Linked DNA regions of Homo sapiens: region 2 is linked to region 1. Evidence: promoter capture Hi-C in 16 types of primary human blood cells and fetal thymus (Javierre and others, 2016). All regions are on one chromosome and are shown on one strand. The core of a region is centred on a gene start or on the middle of the fragment in contact, and the rest is flanking DNA. Distances in the headings are between cores, read along the strand shown. Region 1 holds the start of UCN (urocortin). Region 2 overlaps CAD (carbamoyl-phosphate synthetase 2, aspartate transcarbamylase, and dihydroorotase).

Region 1 (4,083 bases), core at 269-2,768:
GTTGCTGTTATCTGGAACTCCTACCTGTCCTGGAAGGCACATCGGCTCTAAGCCTGCCTCACTCCATCGTTTCCACCTTGCAGTGATGCAGCTTGACCCTGGAACGGTCAGACAACCTCCTCAAAGTGGGCATACCAGTTTCCACGGGGTTGGGTTGCCGGTCAGAGCTTAAGAGGACTAGCACCCTGCAATGCCCCTCTTCACTCTAAAATGTACACTGACTGCTTTAGAGCCCTTGATAATAGTCTTATTCCCACCACATACTAGGCACTCCATAAATATCTGTTGAACCTTCATGACCTTATCAACTTTACACCCATATCCCAGCAAATGCCACTCATCCCCACTCTTCATAGACACATTTGTTACTCTAACCCTGCCTAGGCTTCTTGTAGCTCCAGCTCTTTAGAGACTCCCGGAACCCTTTATATGGTGCCTCAGTAAATATGTTATTAAATATGTAATCCGGAATCTGCAGTGGTAATGAGTAAGTTTTTAAGCAGAAAACTATTGGGGAGTCATTTCTAGAGCTGGAAAGAAGCCAAGAGACCACCAAGCCCAATTTTTTTTTTTTTTTTTTTTTTTTTTTTTGAGACAGGGTCTTGCTCTGTCTCCCAGGCTGGAGTGCAGTGGCGCGATCTTGCCTCACTGCAGCTTCCGCCTCCTGGGTTCAAGCAGTTCTCCTGCCTCAGCCTCCTGAGTAGCTGGGACCACAGGCGCATACCGCCACGCCCGGCTAATTTTTGTATTTTTAGTAGAGATGGGGTTTCGCCATATTGGCCAGGCTGGTTTCAAACTACTGACCTCGTGATCCGCCTGCCTCGGCCTCCCAAAGTGTTGGGATTACAGGCGTGAGCCACCGCGCCTGGCCAAGCCCAGTCTTACAAATGAGGACCCTGAGGTTGGTAGGAGGGAGGTGACCTGTCCACACCAGGAGTTAGCAGAAACTTGAACCCATATTTCTTTGCTGCTCATGGGCAGAGTTACACTGCTGCTATGATTCCCAGGAGAGAAACTGAACTTTGCTAAACTACTTTGGCAAACTCAAAAGCAGATGGGCCAGCCATTTGTGGTCTGAAAGCACTCGGATGCTAGAGACCCTCTGTTACATGGTGCCTGTCAGACAGCCCTACAATTTGGATCCTGGGGCTGGAAAAAGATAAGAATGCTGGGAGACTTTGGTTGTGGCAGACTGCCTCTCAGTGGGTCCCACTGTGTTGGCTGAGTGCCAGCGGTGGACTCCTGATGCCTGCATTTGCAGAACTGATAGCTGCAGGGAGGCAGTGGGTTCCAGCGGCACAGCGTTCTCACATTTCTGGCCACTTCTAGAGGCAGAGGACGGGGTCAGCACCATGGACAGCCTCACGGTCCCGCCTCCCTTTCGTGTGTCAGAACACGCGACCCGGACTAGTCTGGTCTGGGGACGGCCCTAGTCATTGCTGGCTGTTCTAAGCGGGGCGAGGGACTCCCGTGGGTCCCAGAGCAGTCTTTACGCCCCAGCCGGCTTCTCGCTTTCCTGCGTCCAGTGCTGCTTCCAGCGCTAGCCCCAGGGGCACGAAGGCTGGTGTAGGGAGGTGCGCCCCTCCGGGGGCCCGCCAGCCGTCAGACTCGAAGCTGTGGCTGTCATTGCTTCTACAATCAGTGCATGTTCTTCGCTGACGTCAGTCGGAGCTGTCCTGGCACTATATAAGGCTGGCGACAGCCCCGGGACAGACCCTGTGTTCCCCAAGGCGTCTTCAGCCTGCCCCGAGGGACAGAGACTGGAGCTCAATCTTGGACCGTACAGACGCTCGCCGACAACCTGTGAGTGGCTCAGAGCGTCCGCCCAGCCTCCCCCTGCACCAGGACTCCGCTCAGCTCAGCCACCACGCTCCTCCGGGGAGGGAGGCTGGGTGGAAGGGATGGAACAGCACTGGCGCAGTGGCTGGGGCTGGAGGGCAGGCTGCGGGCATTGGGCGGCGGCCGGAGGGGTCGCCGGGCGAGCGCGGGGAGGGGAGCGGCGGCCTGCAGCTGTCCCAGGCGCACCTCACCCTGCGCTGCCCCTGTGTGTCCAGGGCCGGCGGCACCATGAGGCAGGCGGGACGCGCAGCGCTGCTGGCCGCGCTGCTGCTCCTGGTACAGCTGTGCCCTGGGAGCAGCCAGAGGAGCCCCGAGGCGGCCGGGGTCCAGGACCCGAGTCTGCGCTGGAGCCCCGGGGCACGGAACCAGGGTGGCGGGGCCCGCGCGCTCCTCTTGCTGCTGGCGGAGCGCTTCCCGCGCCGCGCGGGGCCCGGCCGATTGGGACTCGGGACGGCAGGCGAGCGGCCGCGGCGGGACAACCCTTCTCTGTCCATTGACCTCACCTTTCACCTGCTGCGGACCCTGCTGGAGCTGGCGCGGACGCAGAGCCAGCGGGAGCGCGCCGAGCAGAACCGCATCATATTCGACTCGGTGGGCAAGTGATGGCCCGGTTTGGGGCTGCGAAAACGTTGACCCCTTTCCCCCACCCCAGAGTTGGGATGCGGGGCAGAGCCACCAGGGCACTGTCTGCGTGACTATTTTTTAATAAAAGTACTGAAGACCCGTTGGCTTTTGTCGTAGAGGCAGGGCAGTCACAGCAGCGTGGGAACCCGTGGGAAGGTGGGGCCCCCGGGCCAGCGGGAGGGGAACAAAATGCTGTGGGGGGCTCCGAGACAGCGGCTTTCAGCCAGGTCAGCCAGGTGCATGTGGACCCCAAGGGTCCCCAAATCCCCAGGACCTCAGAGGTCCCGGCACCACCGCCCCGCCCTCGGCCCTCTTCCCAGGGCGCTGGGCTCACCAGTTCGCTCCTGGCATCACAGAGGTGCCCAATAGGGGTTCATTTGGCTTCCGCCCCCCAGACGGTCTCAGGTTCTGGGAAGGGCAGGATGGTGGGCGGGTCGCCTTCGAAGCCCAGGCTGCGGGGTTGGGCAGCGAAAGGAGATACGGGTCTGGGACGCTCGAGTTCTTTATTGAGATCCTCCCGGGGCCGGCGCCGATTTGGGTGATGCTGCGGTCTCTGCGCAGATCCTCCCCGACTCTAGCGCGGGCTCTCGAGCAGGGTCGGGTCGGCGCAGGCCTGTGCCCGGGAAAGAAGGCTCGGTGGGCGGGTGCTGCGAAGGCACGAGGCAGCTCGAGCCCCGCTCACTCCGTCCCCCGCCACGTGGGTTTCTCCTCTACTCAGCCTGCCTTGCCTGCCCTCCCAGCACCCCAGAGGAACAGCGGGTGAGGAGGAAAGTGTACTTTTCCGCCCTAGGGGGCGCGCCTTTGTGGCTCCGGGGTTGGGTTGCACCGAGGAGTGGGGGCTCCACGCTACCCGCAGGGAGGGCAATCACTGGGGGAGGGGACGCGAGCACACCAGCCAGGCCCCACCCCAAGCCCCTCAGGCCGCTCTCACCTTAAGGCCCATCGGGCGGCTCTCACCTTAAGGCCCATCCGGCCGCTCTTCCTCCGGCCCCGCGCTGCCCTCCTCTCCGTCTGGGGCCACCTCCTCTTCCTCCCCGGAAGCGCCTGAGCCCAAGGAAGGCCTGGTGAGGTGGAGTCCCTGCCTTTACGGCCATCGTGCCCGCCGCACCCCCCACACAGAGGGTCCGAACCCGTCTCAGCGGCCCTCGGCCACCTCCTTCACCTGGCTGGAAGTCGATGGTCCGCAGCATTTCGGCCACGTGCTCCACCCTTACGGTGAATTGCTCCATGCTCTCATAGCCTGGCTCCGGCCGCCCTGCCAGCTCCACCTTCGACATGGCCCCGACCCTGCAGTGGCCACACGGACTCAGCTGGCAATGCCCCAGCACTCTCAAGCCCCACCCCAGCCAGTGGAGCAGTGCAGCCCCCTCCTTTCCCTTCCCGCTATGCCTACTCACTTATTGATCAGCTCCTTGGCCTGCTGCAGGGAAGAAAAGGAGGGTGAGAGTAAGCACTGGGCCAACCTGGGCAAAGTCCCATTTCTGAATCTCACCACAGTCCTGCGGGGTAGGTGGGAAGGCACGTCCCAATTCGTTAAGCAGAAAACGAACTCAGAGGGGGTGACTTGCCCAAGGTCGTAGGGGCAAGCAGGTGCAAGAGACAAGACTTGAACCCGGGACT
Region 2 (4,421 bases), core at 819-3,318, 73 kb after region 1:
GCCCGGCTGCAGACCCGGCCACGGTGCCCAAGGTTCCTGCATTTTCAGACGAGGCCCCAAGGAATAGCGCAAAGTCGCACCGGGCGCCAGCCTCTGCCAGCTGGAGAGGATACACAGAGGTAAGGCTCACTGGCACCCATGCCCACACAGGCTAGCCTGGCACCAGTGGCCTGGGCCCATAGGGCGGGGCAGAAGGAAAAGGGCTCAGGGAAGCAAGGGTGGCTGGTAGGGGCATATGGGTCTCCAATACCAGGAAGAGTGCAGTGGCTCACCTTCTGGGCCAGGGCCAGAGCAGGGGCGTCAATGATGGGGGGCCGGGTATTAGGCATGGCACACACCATGGTGATACCCCCAGCCAGGGCAGCGGCTGTGCCTGAAGCAAAGTCCTCCTTATGTGTCCCACCTGGTTCCCGCAGGTGCACATGGACATCAATCAATCCTGGGAGAAAATGGAAGCAGCAAGATTACAGGAAGATTCAGAAATAGGAAGGGTGAGCTGGACATGGTGGCTCACGCCTGTAATCCTAGCACTTTGGGAGGCCGAGGTGGGCAGATCACCTGAGATCAGGAGTTCGAGACCAACCTGACCAACATGGTGAAACCCCGTCTCTACTAAAAACACAAAAATTAGCCTGGTGTGGTAGCACACACCTGTAATCCCAGCTACTTGGGAGGCTGAGGCAGGAAAATCGCTTGAACCTGGGAGGCGGAGGTTGCAGTGAGCCGATATCACACACCACTGCACTCCAACCTGGGCGATGGAGTAAGACTCTGTCTCAAAAAAAAAAAAAAAAAAAAAATTCCTCAGACAAGGCCACTGTGGACACTGTGGATTAAGGAATGAAAGAGTGAGAAACATTCTGGGGTCTTCACAGTCTGTGCAGTCCAGGACAAAGAGTGGGCCCCCCAGCCATCCTTCACCACACTGCAGGTCTCTATGCCAGGGGCTGCCAGTGTTCAGAAGCCAAGTTCTCCCCAAAGACTTACCCGGCAGTCGCACAAGCTTTTGGGAGGTCATACAGTCAACATGCACCTTCAAAGGAGGGGCTGGCCCGATCTGGCCTAGGGCCTGCAAGTGGAAAGCAGTCAGCTTTAAGGGAAGGGTGATCCTGGGAGTTGTAGGGAGAGATGTGGTTTTCCCATAAACCAGGCTCTGCACACTCTATACCCACCATCTCTCCCTCTGTAGCCACAAAGCTTTATTACTAGCATGGCTGTTCCATACTCACTCCTCCCTCTTTCTTCTTCCCATCAACACTGGCAGTCTCCCTCCCAGCACATGGGTCTCAGTTACCTCCACAAAGAGTTTGGTGCACTTGATATCGATGATTAGGGGCACGGAGAAGTCAGCGGCCAAGCGTCGGGTGCGGTAGCCCTTGGTGACAAAGGAAGAGAGACGCCGGCCCCCAGCTCCACGCATTGACAGGTTAATCACCAGCTCAAAGTTTTTCTCAGCTAGCTGCTCCAGGATGCTCCGCTGTGGTGGGCACTCACCATCCACAGCCTCCTCAAAGTGCCAGTCCACAGCTGTTACCTGCCAACCCGGAGTCAAGGTCAGGGCCAAGCTGTCTGGCAGCGGTCAGGAAGGCTAGCCTTAAGGGAGAGGAGCTGGCCCAGGAGCCCATGATGAGGAGACTGAGGACCCATAGGGTGGGCACTGAGGGCTGCCTCTATTTGATACTGGCAAAGTGTATTTCTTGGCAGGAAAGATATCTACACTAAGTAAGATGGGTTACCAAGGACTAGGTGCAGTATGAGCTCACACACATGTACACAGAGAAAATCCTGGAAGGAAAAATATCAGAACAGTGGTACAGAGATTTTAAGAGACTTTTCTCTTTGCTTCCTGTGTATTCTGCTTTCTGCATGGAATATAGCTTACTAGTATAATGGTAATAATAAAAGCAGGGGAATAGGAGATAATTCTTTGTTTTTTTTTTTTTTGAGACAGCATCTCACTGTTTCCCAAGCTGGAGTGCAGTGGTGCACTCACTGCACACTCGCAGCTCACTGCAGCCTCTACCTCCTGGGCTCAAGAGATTCTCCTGCCTTAGCCTCCTGAGTATCTGGGACTACAGGTATATGCCACCGTGCCCAGCCCAGATAATTCTTTGGTGCAGTATTTTCACCCCCTTGGGGAAGGGCAGCAGTGGGGTAGGTTGCCAGAGTTCCTGCACCTTGACGCCATGCTCAGTGTAGAAGTCAGCTGTGCCGAGACTGGCATAGAGGCTGTAGCCCAGGCTCTCCAGTAGCCGCACAGTTGGGAGCAGCTCGCTTTTGTTCTGAAACCAAACAGAAGGATGAAATTGTTTTCTTCCTGTCTTCCATTTCAAGGTCAGCCCTGGCCCAGGGAGCCACGGCCCTCGGGAAGCCCTCCTGGATTCTGATACCTTATAGCTGCCAATGGTCAGCAGGATATTCTTCTTGGGGATCTTAAAGCCAGTGCTTAGCATGGCCTTGAGGTATGCCTCACAGCGGCTCTCCCCAAAGCCGGCCACCTCCCCAGTACTGGTCATTTCCACACCCAACACCACGTCAGCACCCGCCAAGCGGGAGAAGGAGAACTGAGGCACCTAAAGGGGCGGGAGGGAAGAGAGAGGGCCAAGGTGTGAGAGGACCTCCTCCCTCACCAGCAGAGACGGACACAGTACCCTGTGCTTGATCCCATCTGAATGGCAGGGTCAGCCTGCCCTCTCTGTGTGCCCTCCTGCTTTCCAAACGTACTTGGGGTCATCCCTCAGCTTCTGCTTAGGATGTGCCCTTGCAAATAAAAAACCTTAACCATCCTTCAAAACTCAATTCAAATAGCACCCCTTCGCTCAAGCCTTCCCAGATCACCCCTTTTGGAAGCAGCACCTCCTGTCTCTTGAACTCCTGCAGCATTCTGTTTACAGGTCGAATATGTAGTTTTACCACGGACTGTTCTATACCAAAGCTTTTTTGGGGATCCAACTTCTCTTCCCTCCCATTACCATAAAGTAAGCTCTTAAGGGACAATGACCACCTCATTACCCCCACGATCCGGCAATGCCTTGCAGTCAGTGCCTGGTTTACATACTGACAACTCTGTGTGGTGAGTGAACTCTCTCCCGCTATTTTTCTGCTAACCCCAAGGGTTTCGATATTCCTTACCTTTACTCCCACGACTCCAGAACCAGTCATTAGCCCCACAGGTTCCACTTCTTCCCCCATGATGACCCGCGTGGCCAAGGCTACTAGGTCCACACCCAGTGTCTTGGAAACGAAGGGGAAGGAGCGAGAGACACGTACGTTGCATTCAATAACTTTCAGCTGGTCATCCTGGGGCAGAGAAGACTGGTCAGGCCTTCTGCAGGTTGGCCTTGCTGACACTATCTATAGGCCTAGACTCTTCCTCTCCGTCCTCAGCTCTGGGGGATCAGACTGAGCAGGGTTCAGGGTCACTGACTGTCATAAGCCCCAACACCATGAGCTCTAGCTACAGCCCTTTCCCTCCAGCTTCCCTGCCTACTTGGATGAAGGCAGGAGACAGTGCAGGGCTTCATGGCACTGTGGCCAGCACAGAACATGCAAGAGCTGTGGCCCTTTAGTTCTTTCCTTTAGCCTTATTACCTTGGCAATGAGCTGCAGATTGAAGGGTCCTGTGACCTGTAGCTCCTGGCCCACAGCATGCACAATGGCTTTGATCCGCTCCAGGGTTTTGGCAGTGATATCTTGTGGGGGGGTCACCAGCGTCGCATCACCTGAATGCACACCTGCATTCTCCACATGCTCAGAGATGGCGATGGCTGCCACCACACCATCAGAGGCCACGGCATCCACGTCAATCTCCTAGCGGGGGGACACAGACAGTGGGACATAGGGCCACTTTCTTCTCTCACTTACTCTAGGATTGTCTCTTCCTTTAACGAGCCCCACATAGCCCACTGTTCCCAGCCCTGGTGCCTATGATTCTGCTGGACCAGAGAAGGAAGTCTCCTCCAGGGCTGGCAGCATGCCCTCAGAGACTTCACTGTCTGCAGCCTCCCACCTTAGCCTCCTGGATGAACTTGGAGATGACCACGGGATGCTCTTTGGAGACGGCTGCTGCGCTGCTCAGGAAGCGCTCCAGGTCTCCATCCGTGTAGGCCACATTCATAGCAGCACCGCTCAGCACATAGGAGGGGCGCACCACACAGGGGTACCCCACGGTCTGGCAGAATTGGCGAGCAGACTACAGGAGGCAGGGAGCTTAGCTGAGTTGTTCACACTTTCCCCCAAGCATCATCCAGCCTCCGGGTAACCCACCAGGTCCCAGCCCACCTCGAGGTCACTGAGCTCCCTCCACTGAGGCTGGCTGATACCAATGGTGTCAAGGAGCCGGGAAAACTTGAAACGGTTCTCAGCCGAGTCAATGGCTTCAGGGGAGGTGCCCAGCACCCGGCACTGCTGCCGATGCAACG

The links. Contacts are between HindIII fragments. The CHiCAGO score rates a contact against its expected background, and 5 or more counts as called.
Region 2: a contact is called between a fragment that was not itself captured here and the fragment with the promoter of UCN in region 1, in 3 of 17 cell types (M2 macrophages, M0 macrophages and M1 macrophages). The highest score is 7.3, in M2 macrophages.

What each region holds. Positions count from the first base shown.
Region 1 is chr2:27,305,880-27,309,962 of GRCh38, reverse strand. It overlaps UCN (urocortin), which reads left to right and starts at 1,518. Exons shown (of 2, transcript NM_003353.4): 1 at 1,518-1,803; 2 at 2,055-2,563. The coding sequence starts at 2,068. The coding sequence ends at 2,442. It overlaps TRIM54 (tripartite motif containing 54), which reads right to left. Exons shown (of 9, transcript NM_187841.3): 6 at 3,861-3,883; 7 at 3,626-3,750; 8 at 3,421-3,507; 9 at 2,528-3,076. The coding sequence ends at 3,422. It overlaps MPV17 (mitochondrial inner membrane protein MPV17), which reads left to right. Exons shown (of 8, transcript NM_002437.5): 8 at 1-471. The coding sequence ends at 51. The HindIII fragment of the contact is 26,108 bases long and covers 1-4,083 here.
Region 2 is chr2:27,233,397-27,237,817 of GRCh38, reverse strand. CAD (carbamoyl-phosphate synthetase 2, aspartate transcarbamylase, and dihydroorotase) reads right to left here. Exons shown (of 44, transcript NM_004341.5): 20 at 4,282-4,421; 21 at 4,010-4,192; 22 at 3,592-3,810; 23 at 3,133-3,300; 24 at 2,391-2,573; 25 at 2,178-2,282; 26 at 1,295-1,534; 27 at 988-1,069; 28 at 273-439; 29 at 1-100. Among named protein-coding and RNA genes, the nearest start is that of CAD, 18 kb to the right of the region's middle. The HindIII fragment of the contact is 1,738 bases long and covers 1,200-2,937 here.